Regions from separate parts of the Homo sapiens genome. Here regions 2, 3 and 4 are each linked to region 1. Evidence: promoter capture Hi-C in 16 types of primary human blood cells and fetal thymus (Javierre and others, 2016). All regions are on one chromosome and are shown on one strand. The core of a region is centred on a gene start or on the middle of the fragment in contact, and the rest is flanking DNA. Distances in the headings are between cores, read along the strand shown. Region 1 holds the start of SHISA7 (shisa family member 7). Region 2 holds the start of BRSK1 (BR serine/threonine kinase 1). Region 3 overlaps ZNF784 (zinc finger protein 784). Region 4 holds the start of MIR6802 (microRNA 6802).

The links. The method cuts DNA at HindIII sites, captures the fragments that hold promoters and counts their contacts. A CHiCAGO score of 5 or more calls a contact.
Region 2: the fragment with the promoter of BRSK1 here is called in contact with the fragment with the promoter of SHISA7 in region 1 in 13 of 17 cell types (M1 macrophages, M2 macrophages, M0 macrophages and 10 more); the score reaches 11.7 in M1 macrophages.
Region 3: a contact is called between a fragment that was not itself captured here and the fragment with the promoter of SHISA7 in region 1, in 3 of 17 cell types (non-activated CD4 T cells, total CD8 T cells and naive CD8 T cells). The highest score is 5.7, in non-activated CD4 T cells.
Region 4: a fragment that was not itself captured here is called in contact with the fragment with the promoter of SHISA7 in region 1 in 4 of 17 cell types (activated CD4 T cells, M1 macrophages, erythroblasts and 1 more); the score reaches 7.7 in activated CD4 T cells.

What each region holds. Positions count from the first base shown.
Region 1 is chr19:55,442,043-55,444,742 of GRCh38, reverse strand. SHISA7 (shisa family member 7) reads left to right here and starts at 1,443. Exons shown (of 4, transcript NM_001145176.2): 1 at 1,443-2,550. The coding sequence starts at 1,880. RefSeq lists a silencer at 2,540-2,629 and an enhancer at 2,123-2,700. The HindIII fragment of the contact is 48,275 bases long and covers 1-2,700 here.
Region 2 is chr19:55,282,554-55,285,253 of GRCh38, reverse strand. It overlaps BRSK1 (BR serine/threonine kinase 1), which reads right to left and starts at 1,257. Exons shown (of 19, transcript NM_032430.2): 1 at 676-1,257. The coding sequence starts at 811. The HindIII fragment of the contact is 8,428 bases long and covers 1-1,963 here.
Region 3 is chr19:55,618,325-55,621,024 of GRCh38, reverse strand. ZNF784 (zinc finger protein 784) reads left to right here. Exons shown (of 2, transcript NM_203374.2): 2 at 1-284. Among named protein-coding and RNA genes, the nearest start is that of ZNF784, 4.9 kb to the left of the region's middle. The HindIII fragment of the contact is 1,799 bases long and covers 395-2,193 here.
Region 4 is chr19:55,238,839-55,241,596 of GRCh38, reverse strand. It overlaps PPP6R1 (protein phosphatase 6 regulatory subunit 1), which reads left to right. Exons shown (of 24, transcript NM_014931.4): 8 at 1-120; 9 at 206-358; 10 at 518-652; 11 at 1,297-1,361; 12 at 1,483-1,598; 13 at 1,686-1,771; 14 at 1,914-2,003; 15 at 2,095-2,192. MIR6802 (microRNA 6802) reads left to right here and starts at 1,621; the gene lies at 1,621-1,685. The HindIII fragment of the contact is 7,408 bases long and covers 1-2,758 here.

The DNA of each region.
Region 1 (2,700 bases), core at 194-2,693:
GGGCAGTCACCCCAGACCCCTGGGGGGTTCCTCCTGCAGGTAGAGCTCAGACGTTTCCTTCTCCCGGAACCCGAGGCCAGGCATCCTTCCCACCTCTATCATCCCTCTAGGTCCACGGGGGTGGGCGTGTCTGGGACTTGGCTGGACTGTTGCCATAGAAACAGCTGGAAGACGTGCCCACCACCACCACCACCAACTCCCACCTCTCTTCTGCATCACCTTTTCTCTCTCTTTTGAGACAGGGTCTCACTCTGTCAACTCAGGCTGGAGTGCGGTGGTGAAATCACAGCTCCCAGCAGCCTTGATCTCTGGGACTCAAGTTATCCTCCCACCTCAGCGTCCTGAGTACCTGGGACTATAGGTGCGCACGACCACGCCGGGCTAATTTTTTTTTTTTTTTTTTTTGTAAAGACACGGTTTTGCTGTGTTGGCGAGGCTGGCTGGTCTCCTGCTTGAGCAATTTGCCCACCTTGGCCTCCCAGAGTGCTGGGATTTACAGGCGTGAGCCGCCGCACCCGGACGACCCTTTCTCAGCCTGTATCTCCCTTCTGAAATAGCAGCAGCAGCAAACACTTTCATATTTCACCTGCAATATGCCAGGCACTGTTCTAAGCTCTTTACACATATTCCCTCAGTTCATCCTCCTGACCACTCAGAGATAACCATCCTTATCCCCATTTTACAGATGGGGGACTTGGGGCACAGGGAGCTTAGATAAGAGCCTGTCAGTGTCAGGCAGCTGGCAGGAGGTCCAGTCGGCAGGGGAACCACCCTGCTGTGGTTGTGGTTCAGCTGTGGACAGAGACCCTTCAAACCCGACGCCGTAACAGTGGTGTGTGTGTGCGTGTGCATGCCAGGGAGAGAGAGAGAGAGAGGGAGAGAGAGGGAGGGAGGGAGGGCACCTAAGATCCCTTGATTATCAGATCTAACTAAGGGAGAGAAATTGGCATTTCGGGGCACTGAGGACCATAGGGGTGTAAGTCAGTGGTTCTCCACGGGGGCAGCTGTGGCCTCCTCCCACCAGGGGAACATTTGGCAATGCCTGGAAACATCTTACATTGTCACAACTCGGGGGAATGTGGTGCTGCTGGCATGGAGAGGGCGCTGCTAAACATCCTACAGCGCTCAGGACAGGCGCTCACCACAAAGCAGCATCGGTCCCCGAATGTCAGTGTTGAAAAACCGTGCACTGCCTCTTCCCACTTGCCTGGTCTATAAACTCAAATTCTCAACTTCTCTCTCTCCTCCTCCCTCCCTCTCCTCCCCCTCCTCCTCCTCCCCTTCTTTTCTCCCTCCTTCCCCGTCTCCCTGACTCCTCCTTTCCCACCCACCCCTCATCTGTCTCGCTTCCTTCCCTCCCTCCGCGGTCCCCACTCCCCTCGCCACCCTCCCCTCCCCTTCGCGCGCCTCCCTCCAGCTGCCTCCCCTGCCCTCTCCTCTTCGCCGCCCCCGTTTCTTCTCCTTACATCGCGCCTCGCCTCGCTCCTCGTCCTAATGTCTGCACACCCCTCTGGTGTCTGTCGACCCTCCCAATCGCTTCTCCCGCATTCATCTCTCGCCTGATCCCGGTTCTGTCCGCCCATGCTCATTTCTCTCCCCCAGCCGTGCCCGGGCGCGTTTCCATTACTCTCCCATCGTCGCCCACCGCGCGTGGGGCGGCCAACTTGGGCCCACGCAGCTCAGCTCCCTCCGCCCTTCCTGCCTCCTGGCGCCTGTTGCTCCCCACACTCTGCCGCCCCCCGCCCGCCCTCCCCAGCCTCTCTGCCCACCCATCTCTACGTTTCTCACCCTCTGACCGTTTCTCTCCCGCCCAGCGCTCCAACCTCTGCTCTCGTTCTCCCCGCAGCCTGGCGGCCCAGTGCGACCCCCTGCAAGCCCCATGCCGGCCCTCCTGCTCCTCGTACTCCTGGCCTCTAGCGCCGGCCAGGCCAGGGCGCGCCCGTCCAACGCCACGAGCGCCGAGCCCGCGGGCCCGCTGCCCGCCCTGCTGGCGCACCTGCGGCGCCTGACCGGGGCGCTGACGGGCGGCGGGGGCGCGGCGAGCCCAGGCGCCAACGGCACCAGGACCGGCCCCGCGGGCGGGGCGGGCGCGGCGGCCCGGGCGCCCCCTCCCGCCGAGCTCTGCCACGGCTACTACGATGTCATGGGCCAGTACGACGCCACCTTCAACTGCAGCACCGGCTCCTACCGCTTCTGCTGTGGCACCTGCCACTACCGCTTCTGCTGTGAGCACCGTCACATGCGCCTGGCGCAGGCCTCCTGCTCCAACTACGACACGCCGCGCTGGGCCACCACGCCGCCGCCGCTAGCTGGGGGCGCCGGGGGCGCTGGGGGTGCGGGCGGGGGGCCAGGGCCCGGCCAGGCCGGGTGGTTGGAAGGGGGCCGGACTGGGGGTGCCGGGGGCCGCGGGGGCGAGGGCCCCGGGGGCAGCACAGCCTACGTCGTGTGCGGGGTCATCAGCTTCGCCCTGGCCGTGGGCGTCGGCGCCAAAGTGGCCTTCAGCAAGGCGTCCCGTGCGCCCCGGGCGCACCGGGATATCAACGTGCCCAGGTGCGTGTGCTCTCGGGCGGGAGGACTGCGAGCCTGGGGCGGGGCCCAGCAAGGGAGGTGGAGCCATCCGAGGAGGAGGGGCTGCAGGGATAGGGCGTGGTGGTCAGAGACCCAGGTGGCGGCCGCCGGCGTAGCTGAAGGTGGGCAGGG
Region 2 (2,700 bases), core at 8-2,507, 160 kb after region 1:
CTCCTCCTTCAGACCCAGGAGTTCAGCACCCCTGCCCCTCCTCCCTCAGACCCAGGAGTCCAGACCCCAGACCCTCTTCCTTCATACTCAGGAGTCCAGGCCCCCAGGCCCTCCTCCCTCAGACCTGAAAGTCCAGGACCGCAGTCCCTCCTCCCTCAAACCCAAAAGTCCAGGACCCCAGTCCCCTCCTCCCTCAGACCCAGAAGTCCAGACCCCCAGCCCCTCCTCCCTCAGACCCTGGAGTCCAGGCCCCCAAGCCCTTCTCCTTCAGACCCAGGAGTGCAGGCCACCAGCCTCTCCTCCCTCAGACTCCGGAGTCCAAGCACAGCCCCTCCTCCCTGAAACCCAGGAGTCCAGACCCCCAGGCCCTCCTCCCTGAAACCCAGGAGTCCAGGCCCCCAGGCCCTCCTCCCTCAGACCTAGGAGTCCAGTGCCCAGCCCCTCCTCCCTCAGACCCAGGAGTCCAGGCCCCCAGCCCCTCTCCTCCAGGACCTGAGTCTGCGCCCCCCACCCCCTCCATCCAGGGACCCAGGAGTCTGAATCCCAAGTCCCTTCTCTATGAGGGGCCCAGGGGTCTGGGCAGCCAGCCCCTGCCATTTGAATACCCTGAGTCCCGCCTCTGCCGCCACCTCCACCCTGCCCCCCGCCCCAGGTGTCCCCTTCTGCTAGGCTCACCTGTCTGTCCTTTGCCCAGCGTCTTCTCCAGCCGATAGGGGCCCACATATTGGGCGTGCTGGGGTGGGTGGGGGTGGGGGTGGGGGAGGTGGTAGGCGGGAGAGCCCCCACCTCCCTCCTTGGCCCCGGACGACATGGTGCCCTTGGTCCCGGCCCGACCGGTCCCCCGGCCGCCCCCCCTGCGGCCGTCGCCCCGTCTCTCCGGTGGGGGCCGGCGACCGCTCCGTCCCGGCCCCCCCGGCTGCCCCCCACCTCTCCGGGGGTCCCCAGGGGGCTGGGCTGGCCCCCCCCAGTCGGCGGGCCGCGGAGCTGGGGGAGGGGGGGCTGGCCCGGGGGGGTCAGGCCCCGGGAGTCAGCATGGCCCAGGGGGGCTGCGGGGCCCCCCCTCCCCAGCCCGTTTCTGGCCGGCCCCCCGCTTCCTGCGCCTCCCCCCGCCGGGGGGGTCTGAGGTGCGGGCCGGCGGATGCTGCAGGCCGAGGTCCCCCCCGCCCCCCCACGCGCCCTCTCTCCTCCGCCTCCTCCTCCTCTCCGCCTCCCCCCGCCACCTCGTCCTTTCTCTCCGGCACGCTGACATCACCATCCGGGGACTCCGGGCCCTTCCCCAAAGTTAACCCTTTCGGAGGGGGGAGGGGGAGCGAGGGGGGGCAGGGGGCGGGCCTCCAGCTGGAGGGATGGAGAGGAGGTGGGAGGATGCAGGAGAGAGGATGGAGGGAAGGATGGAGAGAGAGAGAGAGGACCCAACAGATGGGGCAGAGATGGAGATACACAAAGAGAGATGCTGGCTGACACAGAGACGGGAGACAGGCAGAGACGCCAGAGGGATGGAGACCACCAGAGACAGGCTGAGGCAGAGAGGGAGGAAGGGCAGAGATGGACAGGGACAGAAGAGAAGGAAGGAATGGCAAGCCGGGAAAACAGACAGGGAGAGGGAGAGAAAGCTGCTGGAAGCCGACAGAGGGATGGAGAGAGTCAGAGATTCAGAGAGACAGAGAGAGGAAGACCAACCAGAGAGGTGGGGGAGAGGGGGCGCAGATGGAGCTGTAGAGAGGGCCGGGGGTACACACAGGTGGAGGGACACGTGCTGGGGAGAGGTGGGGACATATGGAGGGAGACAGAGACAGAGAGGGGAAAGAATTCTTGGAGTTGCTGACCCAAAATTCATGTCTGTTTCCCCAGCCCCCTAAGGCCACCCATTCAGGGTAAGGGTAAGTCTGTGTCCCCACCAATGTCAAGGCCCCATATCTACCCACAGCCCAGAGTGATTTTGGATTCTCTTTACAGAGAAGCTTCCAGAACCCCCTCAGTTTCCCTGTGTTATGTTTTTAGACCCCCATATATTCTCTGTGCTCGTCATAGGGTCCTTTATATCTTCATGTGGACCCCAGTACAGCCCATACATCCCCACTGTAGCAGGTCCACAAGCATGTGCTCTGCCTGTGAGTAACCCGCCTGCCCCCATTAGCTTTCCGCATAAACCATAGATCCCTCTATGTCATGTACCCGCAAGTGTTAGACACCCATTTAATTCTCAAGTCCCCTGTAAAGCACACCCAGGGCTGGGCAAGGTGGCTCATGCCTGTAATCCCAATACTTTGGGAGACAGAGGTGGGAAGATCAGCCTGGGCAACACAGTGAGACCCCATCCCTACAAAAATTTTTTTAAAAATTAGCCGGGCATGGTGGCATGTGCCTGTAGTCCCAGCTACTTGGGAGGCTGAGGCTTGAGTCAGTGAGTTCTAGGCTGCAGTGAGCTACGTTTGCACCACTGCACTCCAGCCTGAGCAACAGAGTGAGGCCCTGTCTCTAACAAAAATAAAATAAAATAAAGTGCACACAGGAGCCTATTGGCTCCTGTGAGATTTCCCAGTCCCCCATTCAACACCTTGAGTCCACACATCTTTAATGAGTGCCAAATCTCAGCCAGGCACTGTTCCTGTTGGTAAGAACGTGGCAGTGACCTAAATCAGCAAAAAGGCCTGTCCTGTGGAGCTTCCATGCTGGTGGATGAAACAGATGATCAGCAAG
Region 3 (2,700 bases), core at 45-2,544, 180 kb before region 1:
GCTACCTAGCATCCCCCTCCTAAAGCTTTAGACTCAGAGCCCAGGGTCCCCCACAAGCCTCAAGGTAGCCTCAGGTTTCTCTAATTTCCTCCACTCCCAGTTCGAAGCAAACAGCTTACTGCCTAGTCCCCGCCAATCCCAAGGGCGGGCTGGCTGATGGCAGCATGGTGGGCTGGCCTGGGTGTGGAGTGAAAGAGTCACTGTGGTGGGGGCGAGAGGAGGACTTGGGAGCTGGAGGTGTGACACCTTCAGTTCTGTTCCTATTAAAGGACCTTCTGAAGGGCTTCTCTGTCGGTCTTGTATTCGGATTGTCCGCTTTGGGGAGTTGGGGGAGGAGGGGCCTCACCATGGTTTTGCCACCAGCAGTCAGTTGCATCATCTCTTCCTCCAAGCTTCTGTTTCCCCATCATCAGAATGGGGGGTGAGTAGGCCCCACTGTGGTTACGTGTTATGTGGTTCAGCTGTAGGAGAGGGGGGTCAGGGAAGTTTGGCAAAAGCACACTCAACATGCTTTGCATGCTTGTTGAGTGAGAGCCTCTGATTTGCACACCTTTCTGTTCACCCAGTGGGCCCCATGAGATAACTCACAGGCAACTCACAATGTGAACAGAACTCATTCCATTTTCCTCAAAGAAACCTCCATGCTTCTGATGTCATTGGCACCACCACCCAAGCTGGATACCTGGGCAGGTTTAAACCTTCTTCATCCTCATTCTTATGTCCAGTCCCTTATCAGTTTCCCTCAGTTGAGCCAGTTAATATCTTTGGAACTGGAACGTGTTTTCGGCATCACTACACTTGTAGACCAACAGTGGTCTCACACACAGACAACTGCACAGCAGTCCAGTGCCTGCATTTTTTTTTTTTTTTTTTTTTTTTTTTTTTTTTTTTTTTTTTTTTGAGATGGAGTTTTGCTCTTGTTGCCCAGGCTGGAGTCCAATGGCACAATCTCTGCTCACTGCAACCTCTGCCTCCTGGATTCAAGCACTTCTGCCTCAGCCTCCTGAGTAGCTAGGATTACAGGTGGGCGCCATCACGCTCAGTTCATTTTTGTATTTTTAGTAGAGATGGGGTTTCATCATGTTGGCCAGGCTGGTCTCAAATTCCTTACCTCAGGTGATCTACTCGCCTCGGCCTCCCAAAGTGTTGGGATTACAGGCGTGAGCCACTGCACCCGGCCACCTGCCCTCTTCATTCTCCATATGGCATCCATGCAGATCCTTGTCACCAAGACACAGCTCCTTGTGGCTTTGAGACGATTTGGAAATGTGAATGCCTACAGGAGCTGGGTGAAAATGTAAATACACGAGCAAGACGGCCAGGTTCAAGGGGAAAATATCAGCAACATGAAATAATGGCGATTGCCACCAGGTCTCAGAATTGGTATTCAACAAATTGGAGAGTGCCTCTTCAGAAGAGGGTAATGGCTGCTCAGCTCCGGAACACAGATTGGGTTGCCACATCTTCCAGTTTCTTTCAGAAGTTCCATTAGTTCACATTATGTAAAATCTTTTGATTTCCCAATGTTGGCAGTCAAGTCAAACTTTTTAAAAAATGCACAGACTAAACAAAAATGTGTTAGTGGTCATATTCGGCCTTGCAGCTGCCAGTTTCCAGCCTCTAGCCTATAAAATCACCCAAGCCCCACAGTTTGGAATTCAAGACCCTTCAGGGTTTAGCCCCCAGGAACCCAACCTCCAGCCATACTAATCTGTCTTAAATGCTCCAGAATAGCAGGGTTTAGTTCAACACACTAAACTCTCCGCCTGGAAATCTTTGCCACTTCTTTTTTTTTTTTTTTTTCTTATTTATTTATTTTTTTGAGACAGAGCCTTGCTCTGTCGCCCAGGATGGAGTGCAGTGGCATGATCTCGGCTCACTGCAAGCTCCGCCTTCTGGGTTCATGCCATTCTCCTGCCTCAGCCTCCCGTGTAGCTGGGACTACAGGCGCCTGCCACCTGCTCCCACCACCACACCCGGCTGATTTTTTGTATTTTTAGTAGAGACAGGGTTTCACCGTGTTAGCCAGGATGGTCTGGAGCTCCTGACCTCGTGATCCACCTGCCTCGGCCTCCCAAAGTGCTAGGATTACAGGCATGAGCCACCGTGCCCGGCCTCTTTGCCACTTCTTTACCTGGAAAACTCCAGTTGGTTTATGTCATCGTTCAGGGATCACCTTCTCCCCAAGAAGCTTTTCTAGCCCCCCTTCCACTCTGACAGGTGACTCCTCTGTGCTCCCTCAAGCCCTAGTGATACTTCCAAGTCCCTTACACTGTGAGGCTCCATTTCCATGTTACTGCTGAACCCTGAACCCTGGGGGCACTGGCACAACGTCTGTCTCATGCTGGGTCTTCAGCATTAGAACATGGAGCCACACAGGGTAGCTGCTCTCCCATGGGTCACACAGGACTCACCCAAGCAGCGCTCTTACCTAGTTTCATCTTCAAGTTTCTTTTTTTCCTTTTTTTTTTTTTTTTTTTTTTTTGAGATGGAATCTCGCTCTTGTCGCCTAGGCCGGAGTGCAGTGGCGCAATCTCAGCTCACTGCAACCTCCACCTCCTGGGTTCAAGTGATTCTCCTGCCTCAGCCTCCCGAGTAGCTGGGATTACAGGCACCTGCCATCACGCCCAGCTAATTTTTGTACTTTTAGTAGAAAGGATGGTTCACCATGTTGGCCAGACTGGTCTCGAACTCCTGACC
Region 4 (2,758 bases), core at 34-2,533, 200 kb after region 1:
GGGCAGCTGGAGCTCCTGGCCCAGGGGGCCCTGGAAAGCACTGTGTCCAGTGTGGGCGCCTTGCACGCCCTACGCCCGCGGCTCAGCTGCTTCCACCAGCTCCTGCTGGAGCCTCCCAAGGTCAGGGGTGTGGGTTCTGGTCCTCGGGGAGGCGGGGGAAGCAGGAAGGGCAGCCCTTGGGAATCAGGCCTCCCTGTGTCTGCAGCTGGAGCCGCTACAGATGACATGGGGCATGCTGGCTCCGCCTCTGGGCAACACGCGGCTGCACGTGGTCAAGCTCCTGGCCAGTGCCCTGAGCGCCAATGATGCAGCCCTGACGCACGAGCTCCTGGCACTGGACGTGCCCAACACCATGCTGGTGCGGGGACTGGACCGGGCTGGGGGTTCAGGGGCTGGGGCGGGGACTGGACTGGGCTGAGGGTTCGGGGGCTGGGGTGGGGGCTCGGCTGGGGGCTCAGGGGTTGGGGGCTCGGCTGGGGCGGGGCCTCTCTGGTACCAATCCTGTGTCCTCCCATAGGACCTCTTCTTCCATTATGTCTTCAACAACTTCTTGCATGCCCAAGTAGAGGGATGCGTGAGCACCATGCTGAGCTTGGGGCCACCTCCTGACAGCAGCCCTGAGACGCCCATCCAAAACCCTGTTGTGAAACATGTGAGCTGGGACTCCCTGGTCCCCCTCCTTCTGGGCCCATCCCCTGTGGGCGCACCCTCTCCAGAGGCCTACCCCTCACTCCTTCCTCCCACAAGTGTTTGTTGGGTAGTGTTAGGTGCCAGCGCCCAGATGGGGTGTGGGAGGCATGGCCAGGGAGAAACGCGGATGAAACATGCAGGTGCAGGGAGCAGTGGGCTCCTGACTTGAGCTGAAGAGCTAGGGGTGGGCGGGAGCAGACCTGCGAGCAGCTGAGTGTGCATGAGTGCGCACACGTGCGTGTGTGAGCATGTGTCAGTGCAAGCGTGTGTGAGAGCATGTATGTGTGTGAGTGCACACGAGTATGTGAACATGTATGTGTGAGCATGTGTGTGTCCGTTAGTGCATGCATGTGTGTGTGTGTGTGTGTGTGTGTGTGTGTGTGTGTGTGTGTATGCACCACATATTCTTTTGTAGAAAGACCAGAGAGACTTGGGTGGATGCCAGGGTCCCAAGCCCCAGCTTGCATCCCTCCTTCCCATCCCCGTCTCTGGATGAGCGGGGGCCTGGTGAAGCATCTGCTGAGGAAGGGACCCCTGCTGCAGTGCAGAGCTCCCCACATGTGTGCAGACCACCCCTCCAGGCCATCCTGTCCCGCTCTCCCGCAGCTGCTGCAGCAGTGCCGCCTGGTGGAGCGGATCCTGACGTCCTGGGAGGAGAACGACCGTGTACAGTGAGCACCTGCTGCCCTTCATGTCTCCAGGGGCTGGGGCTGCCTGGATGGGGGGCCGGGCTGGGGCTGGGCATCCCTGGGTCCAGTCCTGGCTTGCAGCCGCGGCCTTCACTCTTGCCAGGTGTGCGGGAGGCCCTCGGAAAGGCTACATGGGTCACCTGACAAGAGTGGCCGGTGCCCTGGTGCAGAACACGGAGAAGGGGCCCAATGCAGAGCAGCTGCGGCAGCTGCTGAAGGGTGAGGGTCCCCAGGCCGGCCTGAGGGCTAGGTGGGGGGCTTGAAGCCCCGAGATGCCTCACGTCTTCACCCCTCTCACCTAAGCAGAGCTGCCCAGCGAGCAGCAGGAGCAGTGGGAAGCCTTCGTATCGGGGCCCCTGGCGGAGACCAACAAGAAGAACATGGTGGACCTGGTGAGGCCCAGCTTCTCTTCCTGCACTCCTCCTGCTGCTTCTCTCTCTTGGGCCAGTCTTAGCCTCCCACCGCCACCGATAGCTGCCTGCCCACCCTGGTCTGGGGGCTCCAGCAGGCCCTGACGCCCCCTCCTCTCCCCAGGTGAACACCCACCACCTACACTCCTCCAGTGACGATGAGGACGACCGGCTCAAGGAGTTCAACTTCCCTGAGGAGGCTGTGCTGCAGCAGGTGGGCGTGGGGCTATGTGGGGCTGTGCTGGGCTATGCTGGAGTGGGGTCCTGCCCAACTCCCTCCAGCCCTAACCTCCGCACCCCCACAGGCCTTCATGGACTTCCAGATGCAGCGCATGACCTCTGCCTTCATTGACCACTTCGGCTTCAATGATGAGGAGTTTGGGGAGCAGGAGGAGAGTGTGAAGTGAGTGTCTCCTGCGCAGGGTCACAGCCCTGTCCTGCCTCTGCAGCAGCAGGCGCGCCTACTTGTATCTGTCCCCTGCACGCACCTACATGCCCTGTGGGCTCAGCCTGCAGCTGTGGCCCCTCCTGGGCACGCGTTGGCCGTGGCCTTGTGTGTGTGTCTGCAGCCTCGTGTGTCTGCCTCCTGTTACATGAGTTCCAGCTCTGCAGTCTCTTCTCTCCGAGAGGCAGGCCATGAGGGTGGGGCACAAACATCTTCTGTGCTGGGGACACAGAGCGGGTCCCTCCCACTCCTGGAGCTAGCCTTAGGGGTTCCAGGCGGGAGGGGCTCAGGGTAGTGGGGACCAGCAGTCCTGGCGCAGGGACTGTGGGGCAGAGCTGCACCTCCATGGATGCCCTCTGGCTCAGGAGTCTGCCAGACATGGGGGTCCAGTTTTCCCCTCCACAGGCCTCGGGGTAACAAAACTTTTTTTTTCCAATTACCAATTCTGCTTGTTTTGATTTGTGGGTCAACCACATCTTAATATCAGTCACCTCTGGGTGTTATGATCATGAACTTTTCTGAGT